Linked DNA regions of Homo sapiens: region 1 is linked to region 2. The links are contacts of gene promoters, found by promoter capture Hi-C in blood cells and fetal thymus (Javierre and others, 2016). All regions are on one chromosome and are shown on one strand. Each heading gives the region's core, a stretch centred on a gene start or on the middle of the fragment in contact. The rest is flanking DNA. Distances are from core to core; before and after follow the strand shown.

What was found. The method cuts DNA at HindIII sites, captures the fragments that hold promoters and counts their contacts. A CHiCAGO score of 5 or more calls a contact.
Region 1: a fragment that was not itself captured here is called in contact with the fragment with the promoter of AKAP12 in region 2 in 1 of 17 cell types (endothelial precursors); the score reaches 7.4 in endothelial precursors.

What each region holds. Positions count from the first base shown.
Region 1 is chr6:151,319,972-151,326,810 of GRCh38, reverse strand. All of the region lies in intron 3 of AKAP12 (A-kinase anchoring protein 12), which reads right to left. Among named protein-coding and RNA genes, the nearest start is that of ZBTB2, 68 kb to the left of the region's middle. RefSeq lists a silencer at 2,292-2,492. The HindIII fragment of the contact is 1,433 bases long and covers 543-1,975 here.
Region 2 is chr6:151,237,599-151,244,088 of GRCh38, reverse strand. AKAP12 (A-kinase anchoring protein 12) reads right to left here and starts at 4,122. Exons shown (of 5, transcript NM_005100.4): 1 at 4,030-4,122; 2 at 3,365-3,705. The coding sequence starts at 3,526. RefSeq lists enhancers at 3,155-3,732, 3,810-4,319. The HindIII fragment of the contact is 4,204 bases long and covers 2,052-6,255 here.

The DNA.
Region 1 (6,839 bases), core at 10-2,509, 86 kb before region 2:
CAAAAAAAAAGATTTGGCAGCAATGATCTCAAATATTTAAAGAATAAAGAAGTCCTGTTCCTATAAAGTTAAATTCACAAACGGAATTTAATTTTCTTGATGACAGGAAGAGAAAATACGCAGGTTAGGCCACAGTACAATGGCATAAGACTATCAAATGTCAAGTTAGAGGAGCTGTAAGAGCATTCTAAAAGTTTGATGCGTGTAAGTTATTTGCTAGAAGTAGGCAGTAAATATTATAATTCATACTCACGGCCAGATTCCTAGAAAGTAAGCTAAAGAAACATACTTTTTTCTTTTTTTCTTTTTTTTTTTTTTTTTACTATTTGTTGCCTAAATAGTGTTGCTTCCTAGCCACCGATTTTATAATAACTATGGCTTTATTAAAACCACCACTTAAAGCAGAGCTTAAATGTTAGTCCCCTAAACCACCAAGTGTACCTTTATTCAAAGTTCCTAGTAAACAAGTCAAAATGCAAACACTTGTAATTTGCCCAGAAGAGGAATGTATTCTGTCTATGACTACGGCAAGAGATTAAGCTTTCACAGCTTATTTTCAAATTCACACAAATCTGACATATTTCTATTCAGTCGGCTGCTGTTGTTCCTCTCCACATCCCTCTCTCCCTAAGGGGAAGGGTACAACCCCGAACAAAATATACTAAAGGTCTCCCATAGGCACAGTCAAGAAGATTCCAGCTCAGCCAAAAATGAAACACTGAGGTTGTCTGATTCTTGCTGAGCCCAAGGGAGAATGTTCTTCTGAAGAAAAACTCAGTACACGGAGAGAAATAAATGCCAATAACGGTCCCGCCACTGACCTCCCGGGCTCCCCACCAAACGCTCATTCAACGGAAGAAAGCCCCTTTTCGTGCCCCGTGCCTGCCGTCCAGGGAGGACAAAAGCGACCTGGCTTGTGCCTTACCTGTGATGGTGATGGTCCCCAGCATATTTTAAGTAGCACTACTGTACAGGAGATCAGCTTAGCGGGTCCCTGCCCTCCCCGGCAGACGCCTAGTCTCCTGCCTGCCAACCGCAGGTGGTTTCGGCGGGATCAGAGCGGACTGAGCGCCCAGACACTCCCGGAGGATGGGGGAGAACCGGAGGTGCCCTCGGAGCTGCCGCAGCGAAAAGCAGAGCGCGGATGCATTTCCCCAGATAATTATAGGCGGACCCCCACCCACGCCCCCACCCAGCCACCCACACGCGGGCTGGCGCTGGCCCCTCCCTTGCTGAGCTCCAGGACTTCGGGAGCGCAAACTTCCCCGCCCGGGCCGCACAAGCAGGGGGTCACGTGCTTCACCTTAAAGCCCTCCCCCGAGCTGGGCTCTGTGAGTGGTCAGCGGGTTCTGCAGAGTCCCGGGAGGGTTTAAAGGGTGCTGGGCATGAGTTCGATGCTGGAGCCGGCGCATTGGATCTAAACGGTTACTTCATTCCTGGCACCGATTTACTAATACTTCTGTATCTCAGCTTTTTAAGTCATTTCAAGGAAATAGCCACACAGACAGTAAATTCTCCCTCCATTTTAAAGACTGCATTCTGCATCCTTATGTTTGTTTAAAGGTTGGTGTGGTGCCAACACCTCCCTTCTTGGCATCTGTAGCATTTGATATTTTCACCATCTGTGTCTTACGCATACACACACGTTGCACTGCTCTGAAGACTGGCAACTCTCAGTAGTGCTGTTTCCTAAACTCTTTGAGAAGGGCTCTCAGAAGTGAACTTGTTCCTTCTAACAAGTGCTGTCTTCAACACTTGACCAAGGCAACTTTTCAAAAGCAGACTTGAGCATGGGGTCTTTTTCTAAATGGCAGAAGTTAGCTAACTTTTTAGATCAAACTATGCCATGTTCCAATTTTTAGACACTATCATATCTCTAACATGCAAGCACACAACTCGGAAATCAAAGCCTATGTTAAAAGTTCAGAAGATTTCAGGCAGCCCTAGAATACTTCAATTCTTTCTCATTGAAGCTTCAGGTTTGTTCTTTGTAAAGACACGAGTGACGAATGAGTTGGTGTGGTCTCACAATTTTAATACACTTTTTTTGTACTCCAATTTTTTGTTAGGGTGGGTCCGTTAGGTCCCCTGGGTTTGTTCCCTTCTTTCATCCTTTCCCTATTTATCACTTCATGCCTTGCCTGCCTGACCCATTAACACCAGCTCTTCCCCTACACAAACAAAAAGGAAAGTTTTACTATTGCACTTCTCTTCAGAGAATGAAGATCTTGTTCATTATTGCTTGGGGCAGGGAGGAGGGAGGGGAGCCTCGGCGTAGACCACAGTGGGCACAGCAAAGAGAAGGGTGGGCGAGGAACAGGAGAATCAGGGAAAAATGGAAGTCCAGGAGAGCTGGCTGGCATGGCACGTAGTTGCACTTTTTGGGCACCAGGGGGCGCGATGCACCACACTCGGGCCCAGAGTGAGCAACGTGAAAACCGCTTCCTTGCTGGTAACCAGACCTTGTTACAAAAATCAGCTTCAGCCTCTCCAAAAGCCTGGCTTCCGTTTCACATCCTGGCAAATACCCGGCCTGGCGGGAACAGGGAATGATGGGCCTTGTCCTGACTCAGTGAGATATTGCCTGGAAGCTGACTCCCAGACCCAGCCACTGAGCTGCTTCCCAACCTTTTTTCTCTAGAGAAGTCTCAACTCTATTTCACAAATTGCTCCAATTTTAATAATGAGGCTGGTGTGTGTGAAATGCTGCTGGTACTGACCATCCTTCTGGAGTCCACAGAGCCAAGGGGGCAGGGCAACTTGGCCATTCCTCTCCTCCCAATCCCAGCCCCAGAGTGTCCTGGCTGTGCAAATCATGGATAAAGACGACTTGGGATGTTGCATCAGGGTCTACATTAATAAGTCCCTTCCCCAGAGATGTCCCAGGAGCCGTGGGTGATCTGGGATCTGAGGGCTTGGTTCTGCATCATTTCTCAGCACCAGTGGTTGGGGACAACACAAGGCTATCATCTGGTGCCACTTCTGAAATCGAGTCTGCCCTTGCAGAGCAGAATGAATCTCCAGCTCCTCTCCTTTCTATCAGTCCAAATTCTAACACTGGGACAAGCAACAGCTATTCCACTGAGCTGGATAGGAAGAAAAAGAAAAACACACAAAATGTCACTAGTTACACATTTAATACCCTAAACAACATTTTCAAAGGTCACTGTACTGCTGTTCAGTTTTGGCACTGAAACATTTCTTTTTATGACATTCATGAAGACGCTAACACATCTGATTTGATTTTTTTTTTTTTTGAGATGGAGTCTCGCTCTTGTCACCCAGGCTGGGGTGCAATGACGCGATCTCGGCTCATTGCAACCTCTGACCCCCGGGTTCAAGTGATTCTCCTGCCTCAGCCTCCCAAAAGTAGCTGGGATTACAGGCGCATGCCACCATGCTCGGCTAATTTTTGTATTTTTAGTGGAGACGGGGTTTCACCGTGTTGGCCAGGCTGGTCTTGAACTCCTGACCTCAGGTGATCCACCCGCCTCGGCCTCCCAAAGCGCTGGGACTACAGGCATGAGCCACTGCGTCCGGCCTGATTTGATATTCTTAAAGAGGCAATTAAAATCACAAGGCAGAGCAATAGATCATGTGGCAAGTTGTAGACTCTCTCAGCCAATGGGTCTCCTTTGATCTCTACCTCTAAGAATGATCAAGGACAGGGTGCACGGCCCAGCTGCCCAGCGAGCCTCTGTGTGTCTGCATTTACAAAGAAAAGTCATCAATTAGGATAAAAGCAGGAGTAAAGATGAGACCTAAGGTCACTGTCCAATGCAGGAGACTTTCTTTTATCATTTCCATTCTCTGTTTTTGTTAAATTAGGATTTTTAGAGGAAGACATCACCACCCAAAGCAAGAATTATAGGAAACATTTTGCTGTATAATACATAGATGGATGATAGAAAACGTGTTTTCCCAAATCAGAATGGTTCACTCAACAAATATTTACCAAGTTGTTGCTCCATATTTATTACGCAAAACACCCAGGGATCTAAATGAGATACTATCCCTGGCCTCGGGAGCTCAGTCATGGATGGTGCACACACCCAGTGGCAGGAGTGGGTGGTGGACACGCCCAGTGGCGGGAGTGGGTGGTGGACACGCCCAGTGGCGGGAGTGGGCAGCTCTAGTTTGGCTCACCTCTGAGGTAGCCTTGGAGCTGGTCTCTGAAGGGATGAGGGGACACTCCCTACCTGGGGCACAAAGGAAGGCGGTCCATAGGGACAGACGAGCATGGGCAGAGGCAGAGATGCCAAGAGCAGGACATTTGGGCAATCATGAGTGGGTTCCTCACAGCTATGAGGTTCGGAGTTTACTTAGGGAGGTCCGGGAGTTGGGGGCTTGGCGGGGAAGACAACACTGGAGATGAAACTAAAAATATTTATAAAGGGTCTTGAATGACATGTTAAAGACTTTGTAACAAATTATCCATTAAAAGTGAGCAAAGAATCTGAGTAGCCATTTCTCTAAAGAAAATATACAAATGACCAATGAGCACATGAAAATACGTCCAACGTTATTAGCCCTTAGAAAAATGCAAATCAAAACCACCTCACACCCACTAGGATGACTATAATAAAAAAGAAAAAAGACAACAGGTTGGGCGCGGTGGCTCACACCTGTGATCCCAGCACTTTGGGAGGCTGAGGTGGGCAGATCACGAGATCAGGAGTTCGAGACCAGCCTGGCCAACATGATGAAACCCCGTCTCTACTAAAAATACAAAAATTAGCCGGGCGTGGTGGCGGGCGCCTGTAATCCCAGCTACTCAGGAGGCTGAAGCACAAGAATTGCTTGAACCCAGAGGGGTGGAGGTTGCAGTAAGATGGTATCGCACCACTGCACTCCAGCCTGGGCGACAAAGTGAGACTGTGTCAAAAAAAAAAAAAAAAAAAAAAAAACATAAAGCTGATGTGCCTGGTTTAAAAAACAGGGGCAGGTGGCGGGGGGCAAGGAAGACCACAATAACAAGGAATGGAGAAGGTGGAACCCTCACACATCGCTATTGGGAAGGTAAAATGGTACAGCCACTTTGGAAAATAGGCTGGTAGTTCCTCAGAATGTTAAACATAAATTTATTATATGACCCAGCAATTCTCCTAGACATATAACCAAGAGCAATGGAAATACACACCCACAGAAAAACTTGTCCATCAATGTTCATTACAGCATAATATTCCTAGTAGCCAAAAGTGGAAGCAACCTAAATATCTATCAGCTCATGCAGGGATAAATAAAATTGAGCTTGTTTAATGGAAATGGGTTAGTAATAAAAAGTAATAAGAAATAAAGTACTGAAACATGCCATAACATAGATGAATATTGAAAAAACTTTAAGTGAAAGAAGCTAGTCACCAAAGAGCATACACGGTTTAATTCCATTTATTTGAAATGTCTACAAGAGGCGAATCCATAGACATAAAGTAGTTAGTGGTTACCTAAGACTGGGGGTTTTGGCGGGAGAGGGAGTGACAGCTAACCAGGATGGAGTTTCTTTATGAGGTAATGAAAATGTCCTGGCCAGGTGTGGTGGCTCACACCTATAATCCCAACACTTTGGGAGGCCGAGGCGGGCAGATCACTTGAGGTCAGGAGTTCAAGACCAGCCTGGTCAACATGGTGAAATCCCATCTCTATTAAAAATACAAAATTTAGCCAGACATTGTGGCGCACGCCTGTAATCCCAGCTACTCGGGAGGCTGAGGCATGAGAATCACTTGAACCCAGGAGGTGAAGGTTGCAGTGAGCTGAGATCGCGTCATTGCACTCCAGCCTGGGCAACAGAGCAAGACTCCCTCTCAAAAAAAAAAAAGAAAGAAAGAAAAGAAAATGTCCCACAGTTGATTGTGGGGGTGGTTATACAACTCTGTGAATATAGCAAAAACCACTGAACTGTGTACTTTAAATGGGTCAACTGCATAGTATGTGAATTACAGCTCACAAAAGCTGGTTTGTTTCTTTAAAAAAGAACTTTGTGCTGCTGGTTCTGAAGACTATAGGGAGCCATTGGAGGCTTGAGGCAGGGGATGGTGGCACCGAATTTGACTGTGATTTAGAAAAGGCAACCAGGCTGTGATGACGGGAGGAAGAGACTGAAGCAACAAAACAGATGGATGCAGTAGTGACGAAGGTGAGGGAGGAGTCCAAAGTCACGGTGCCCACAAGATGAAAGATGCAGTGCGAATCTGTGGGATCACCCGAACGGAATGATGTCCATGAAATAAGAATGGCCTGGAACCCTGAGGAAGAGGAATCTGAAAAAGGACCCTGGGAATGGACAGGGATTAGGGGCAATGAGGGAGAAAGTGGCAGCAAAGCCACATGTGGAGAGGATTAAAACATGGAAACAGTGGTCCACAGTGTGACAGCACAAAGTAGTGACACAGGCCGGGCGAGGTGGCTCATGCCTGTAATCCCAGCACTTGGGGAGGCCGAGATGGGAGGATTGCTTGAGGCCAGGAGTGCGAGACCAGCCTGGGCAACACAGCAAGATCCCATCTCTATAAAAAACAAAAACAAAAAACCAAGCAGTGACACAGGAAGAGAACGGGAGAGGCCTCGGAGTGGGCAGTCTGGAGGCGGGACCAGTGGACAGATGGCTGCAATAAAGCAGGCTACTTTCCTCTATTTTTCCTGAAAGGGAGGGGACAGGGACCACTACACTCAGAATTAAAACCAATATTAGGCTCTCCAACTTCCTCCAAGGATGCTTAGGTATTTAACCCAAATATGAGTGTCACGGAATGGAAGAATGGACTTGCACACTAAATTCAACCCTCCCTGGCCTCCTCTCCTCTCATTTTCTCTTTAACCTGGCATCGCCCTTGGAGGAA
Region 2 (6,490 bases), core at 2,873-5,372:
GAGACAATGGCCTCACCCTGTTGCAACAGACCATTGTTCAATGTCCAGCATTGAAATCATTCATCAGGCAATACATATAGAAAGGCTAATTAATTGATTGTCCAGACTTAGTCTGGAGCCTGGCTCCAGAAATCAAGATTAGCCAGAGACATGGAAGTCAGTTTGTCACTGGTCACCCCACCCTCTGTTGCCACCTGAATATGTTGCCACCTTAATATTTTTTTAAGACAAATTTTTAAAAACAGACAATTAAGGAATAATGTGAAGTGTGAGGCTTTACTTACCACCAGCATTCAGGTCATCTAATCTTCCCGCACCCTGCAGTTGTGAAACGGCCATGTCTCAAAATTAAACCCTGGCAGATAACAGACCAAGCCATTCCCCCTGCCCCCGCCTGGATCTTACATATAAAGACTGTAAAAGATTTCCAGTCTATCTCTGGATCTAACGGAAAAAATAAAGATTACAAAAGATTGAATAGAAGATAAAGACTCCTTCCATTTTACAGAAATGAACCATAGATAAAACCAAGACTTCTGCTTTAGTGCATCTAAACGTTAAGCCTGAGTAATCAAAAGCTTGTTTAACTCTCCATTTGACCTAATACAAGTGATAATTCAACCAGTGTAATGTCTGTTCAGATAAGGGCACTTAGTGAATAACTGGTAACTAAAACTAGCAGAAAAAAAGGAAAGTAAATCCAATTGCTAAATAGATAGCATGCATGTGATATAAATGTCAGCTATTAGATAGAAAAAGATCTGCCTACAACCTTTAATTAATGACCACATTCTATCCAAGGAGGGAAAAATGATGTATTAGCCTAAACCTCCCCAACCGTCCACAGACACATCAAGGAAGTTCAAGATGTAATCCTAAGTAACTCAGGGTATGAAATGGACTCATTTGAGCCATATGCACTTCATATATTTGTCTATTTAAGATAAAACGCAATTTGAAATTGCAATGCTAACAAGTCACTCTATATCTAGAGAAACAGAATCCAAAGCCCCCAAATCTGAAGTTTTTGGTCAAACTATTCACTTGATCTATTAATAACCGAACAGACTGACTTGCCTTAGTCACTATCATAATCAGTCTCACGTGATAATGAAATGATCAAGGGTTAAATTGTAGTAAAATCAGATAGGTCAAGGTATTCTCCAACTTGATATTTTCCAATCAAAACCAAGGAGCCAATATCACCCCTTCCTCTTTCCACAAGTATTCCTGAGAGCTGCCTCTGTGCCAGGCAACATGGCACGCATGAAGGAACACCGTTGGTCGGCACAACCAGGCGTGTTCCCTGCCCCTGCGAAGTATTCACAACAGCAAGAACACTAAACCCACACATGTGAAAACTGCTGGGACGGGTCCATGGTGCCACGGAGCCTAGAGTGGGAGATGGGATTACTTGGAGGTCAGGAATTGGAGCTTAACAAGAAGAGGGGAGGCAAGGGCCATGGTGCTGAGTCATTCTTAATTGGGGAGTCCTTTTGAAAAGACATTTGTGTTCAAAGCCTGAGTGATAAATTTGGCTAGTTCAAATGAAAACTAAATACATTCCAAGGATACATGTAAGTGCACTGATTTGTCTCCAAATTGATAACTGGGCATTATGCCAACAAGTTCAATGATATTCTGGATGTCATTTAAGTGATTTTTTAAAAGGAGGTTGTTTGGTTGCTTCAAGACGGTTGGCAACTTGGAAAGAGGAAAAGGATAAGGTTATGGAAGACGGAAAAAGAGAATGGAAGGAATATTTTTAAATAAACAAATTCAAGTTTACTGGGAAGGGATTAAATCCCATATTTCAGGGTGAACAGTTAGTAAGATCTGAAGGAGTATAAAAGCCGGGGCGGTGGGGGGAATGTCACCCAACTGCAAGTTTTTAGCAATTATACCTTAAAATTATTTTCATCGCTAGACTCTGACCACTGGTTACAGAGCCACTTTGACAGTAGCTGGCATCAAAACATTATGTGCATACAGTAAGTATTAAAATGCGACTTGAATCTCAAAAGGACAGTACATTCCTCAGGCCAGAAGCTTAAGCATCTCTTAGAAAAACCTACATAGCACAGAGACACAGTTAGTACTTAATATCTAGGGACCATGGATTTTACAAGTAGTTATGAATCAAAGACTGGCGGTAAAAACTATATTATTAACAGCAGTCTCTCAGCCCAAAAGAGACTAGGGCAGCTAAGGAGGTCAAGGCAATTAGGTCATGGTTGTAGGTTCCTTTTTTTTTTTTTTTTTGCATATTGTAAACATCTACACCTCCTGCGATAACTCACGTACTCTATCCTCAAATTTGACATACCGCAAATTTAACTATTAAACATGGTTATCCACATCTTTCTACAAGGTATCACAAGGGTACCTTTGTGATACAAGGGTATCACAAAATCAGTAGAGTGAAGCCTTGCTAATGAACACATGCGCTGGAAAATAGATCTAAAATACCACGACCAGAACAAGCCACAGTCTTGGCGGCTGTCCTGGCCCACAAGAAATATTCCAGCCTTGAAGACTGAAGCCGATAAAATGCAGTCGTTTCAGCACTGCGTCCAGGGAAGAGTACCCGGAATGCTCGTTACACTGACCCCATCCTTTGAGAACTTCTAGCCACTCTAGCGTGTGTTTGGCCAACTGAGTCTGCAGGCAAAGCGCTGAGCGAACGCGAGGGCGCTGGCTGGTTTGCGAAACCTGTCATTCCTTCTGGAAACGCAGCGCCTGCCCAGGTTTTTCCTGGCTCTGAGCGAGCTACACCCCAGGCTTTCTCTGCCTCGGGAAGGCGGTGCCTGCTCGGGCCGCTGCCGCAGGAGGACTGGGTACCAAACCCGCTCGCTCCAGGCACCGCTGGCATCCAGGGCGGTACGCGACGGGGAACCCGAGGGTGGCTGGGCTCCCCGGCGGGCTCCACCACGAGTCCTGGCCTCACAGCTGACTTTCCGCATCTCGGAGCTCCGGAGGCCCGGCCCGGGGTCCATTCTCCACGGATCCCCCTCCGCGCAGCTCCTCCGCCTCGGGCTGCATGGCTCCCACCGGAAGAGTGCGCAGAAAGGCTCAGCCGCCGTGGGCAGGGCGCGGGTTTTATTATTGCGCATGGCGCAGTCGCCTCCCCTGGAGACCCGCGACAAAGATGCAAGCCCCCCGCCGCGCTCGCCGCTGCTCTGGCCCCGCCCCGGCGCGAAAGACCCTGAAAAGCCTCCAAAGAGGGGTTCGCACTCCTGAGTTTGCAGATGCGGCTGGATGGGCTGGGAAGTTCTCTCGGCGGAAATCGGAGGGACCCCCCCACCCCCACCCCCACCCCCAAAGACCCGCGCCTCCCGGCGCAGGTGGCCCGGCACGCCCGTACCTTGGTGGCGGGGTCCGAGGCAGCGATGGCGGGGTCCGCGGTGGTGTCTGGCGCCGCCTCGGCCGAGGGGCCGCCGCCGCTGGGCTCGGGCTCAGCCGGCGTGGAGCTCCCCTCGGGCGGCTGCTCCGGGCTGCGCTGCTCGGTGGAGCTCCCGGCGCCCATGGCTCCTCCGCACTTCTCCCGCGCCTAGCCGCCGGGTTACGCCTTCCCCAAGCCGCAGGGACAGGGGCAAGAGCCAAAAGACGCGCGCCCGCGAGGTCCCGAGAGCGCCTTCCTTCGCCGCCAGCCGACTGCGAACGCGCCCAGCCTGCGAATGAAGGAGACGCGCTCGCGGCAAACTCCTTAAAAGAAAAGGAAAAAAAAAAAAAGGCCACCTCTTAGCCTCCGCCCCCCTCCCCCCGGTTTTTCCCTCGCTTCATCACATGAGCACAGCCCCAGACACGCCCTGCAGCAGCATCTGCCCCCAGGCTGCCGGGACCAGAGGCGCTGCGACGCGCCAGCCCAGGTCCAGGCAGCCGCCCACCCGGCCCTCGGGCGCCTCCCGTTTCTAACAGGGCGACTAGAGCTGCGGGGACGACCCAGGGCCTCAGAAGGCAAGAGAGCAGGGGAGCAAAAAGCCTGCCGGGGACACTGGATTCTCTGGGGTTTATTAAATGATGGATCACCCAAGGCAGGAGCTTCTGCTGCAGCCGACTTTCAGCTCGCCCAGGAGCGAGTCCGAGTCCCCATTTGCTTTCCTGCAGATTGTGTTTAACTCCAAACATTTGTTCCAGCCTCCTCCCCATTAGCAGGAGAAAGGCAAGCGCTCCCTGGCTCCTCCTGAGTCCGACCATATTTGGGCACCTCACGTGGCAAGAGCAGGGAACCGAGAGGTTAACGCAGTCAGGCCACGGATGAGGTGGGCCACGCAGGCCCACGCTCTCCTATCCTCCGGAACAAGTGATGTCAGGCGATGCCATCAGCAGTGCTAGCCGCCCCCCTTCCCCCGGGGAACGGGGGGAAATGAGGCTGTTACCGGAAATGTGCCCGTCCTTCTTTGAGGGCCTGTGCTGGAAGTTACCCATCCAGGCCACCTCTGCTCCGCGCGATGCCGACACATGACAGCATAGATCTGTTCCTTTGCCGTCAGCCTTTCTCAAAAGATGAAGACTTTAAATAATACCAGCACAAGTGGCTTGCATCCTTTCATTTCCGACCCTTGAATATAATATGTATTACATGAGCATGGCAGCCAATCAATAAGTATTTGAACTAAATTAAATTTGTAGCTGGATTGCTTGGCGCAAAGCATTAAGGCTTTGGGGCTGAAAGACAAAATTTATTCCAGTTGTAACTAGCAACCGAGTGCCCCAGTTTTCACAAATACTTTGAATCTCCATTAAGAATGAAGAAACCAGCCTGGTTAACATAGCGAGACCTTGTCTCTACAAAAAATAAAAAAATTAGCCAGGCGCAGTGGTGCACCTGTAGTCCTAGCTACTCAGGAGGCTGGGGACGCTGGGGTAGAAGGATGACTTCAGCCCAGGAATTCGAGGCTGCAGTGAGCTATGACTGTGCCTCTGCACTCCATCCTAGTCGACAGAGCAAGATTCTGTCAAAAAAAAAAAAGAAAGAAAGAAGGAAGAAACTTTCGGAATATTCACACCAAATTCCAGATAAATATCTCATACTCAGATTTAGTACAATTTTGTAGAAAGGGTGTAAGCAGTAGTTCAGCACTAGGATGTTTCATGCCTAATGAATTGCATGAATCGAATGGTACCCTGGGAACCATAGGTTAGTTACTCACCATCAAATTTGTTTTCTGAATTAATTTTTTTTCTTTTTCTTTTTTTGAGACAAGGTCTCGCTGTGTTGCCCAGGCTAGTGTTGAACTCCTGAGCTCAAGCGATCCTCCTGCCTTGGCCTCTCAAAGTGCTGGGATTATAGGTGTGAACCACCACACTGGGCCTGTTTTCTGAATTAATTATTTTTATTTAAAGGACTACACGAAGGCCAATTTCTCTGGAGTTTATCTCTTAAGAAACAGTATATTTGCAAAATGCTTAGTTTTAGGAATTTATACACATTTCCCCCATTTTGACTTAAATTTTGACTATTTAGGAAACATTAGAATTCTTACTCTGTACCAGGCACTGTTCAATGCACTTTACATAATAATCTTTACAATAACCCCATGGGATAGATAGTATTATTCTCATTTTACCATTGGCAGGAGGGGGAGGAGTAGGCCCGGAGAAATTAAATTGTGTGCTTCAGGTTTCACAGCCAGGAGTTGGAAGAGCAGGAAGTCCAACTGGCATCTGCTTTCAGGGTCCACGCTTCACCACCGCATGGCACTCCCCTTCCCTTTCAATCAACTGTGTTCTCTCCTCTCAGAGGTGTTACTGAAACGTGGCATTTGGACCTCACTTAGGATTTTAAGAGCAAAAAGCACTGTTAAAACCTACTTGAGGCCAGGTGTGGTGGCTTACACCTGTAATCCCAGCACTTTGGGAGGCCGAGGTGGGTGGATCACCTGAGGACAGTAGTTCAAGACCAGCCTGGGCAACATGGTGAAACCCCGTCTCTACTAAAAGTACAAAAATTAGCCAGGCATGGTGGCGCGTGTCTGTAATCCCAGCTACTCAGGAGGCCAAGACACGAGAACTGCTTGAACCTGGGAGGTGGAGGTTGCAGTGAGCTGAGATCATGCCATTGCACGCCAGCCTGGATGACAGATTAAGACTCCGTCCCAAAAAAAAAAAAAGAAGAAGAAAAAAAAAACTATTTGAGAATGATTAACGTCAGCACATTTGAAAATGTATCAGTAAGTAGCACAAATACTATCAACATTTTCACATTCTGTGAGATTATATTTACTTTGTTCCTGGGAAATTCTTAGCAAAGCTTTTCACATCTACTACCCTTTAAATTTTCAGAAAGGATTGCAGGGTCAAGCCAACAGTGTACAACCTACGTGCTGAGGAAGATATCAGCATCTGCTTAGATTAGCAGTTACTTGCTTTTTGTTTATTTTCCAGGCCATGTAAATGTTCATACTCTTATTTGTAAAAAGTAAAATCATTGCGCTGGGCGCGGTGGCTCACGCCTGTAATCCCAGCACTTTGGGAGGTTGAAGTGGAA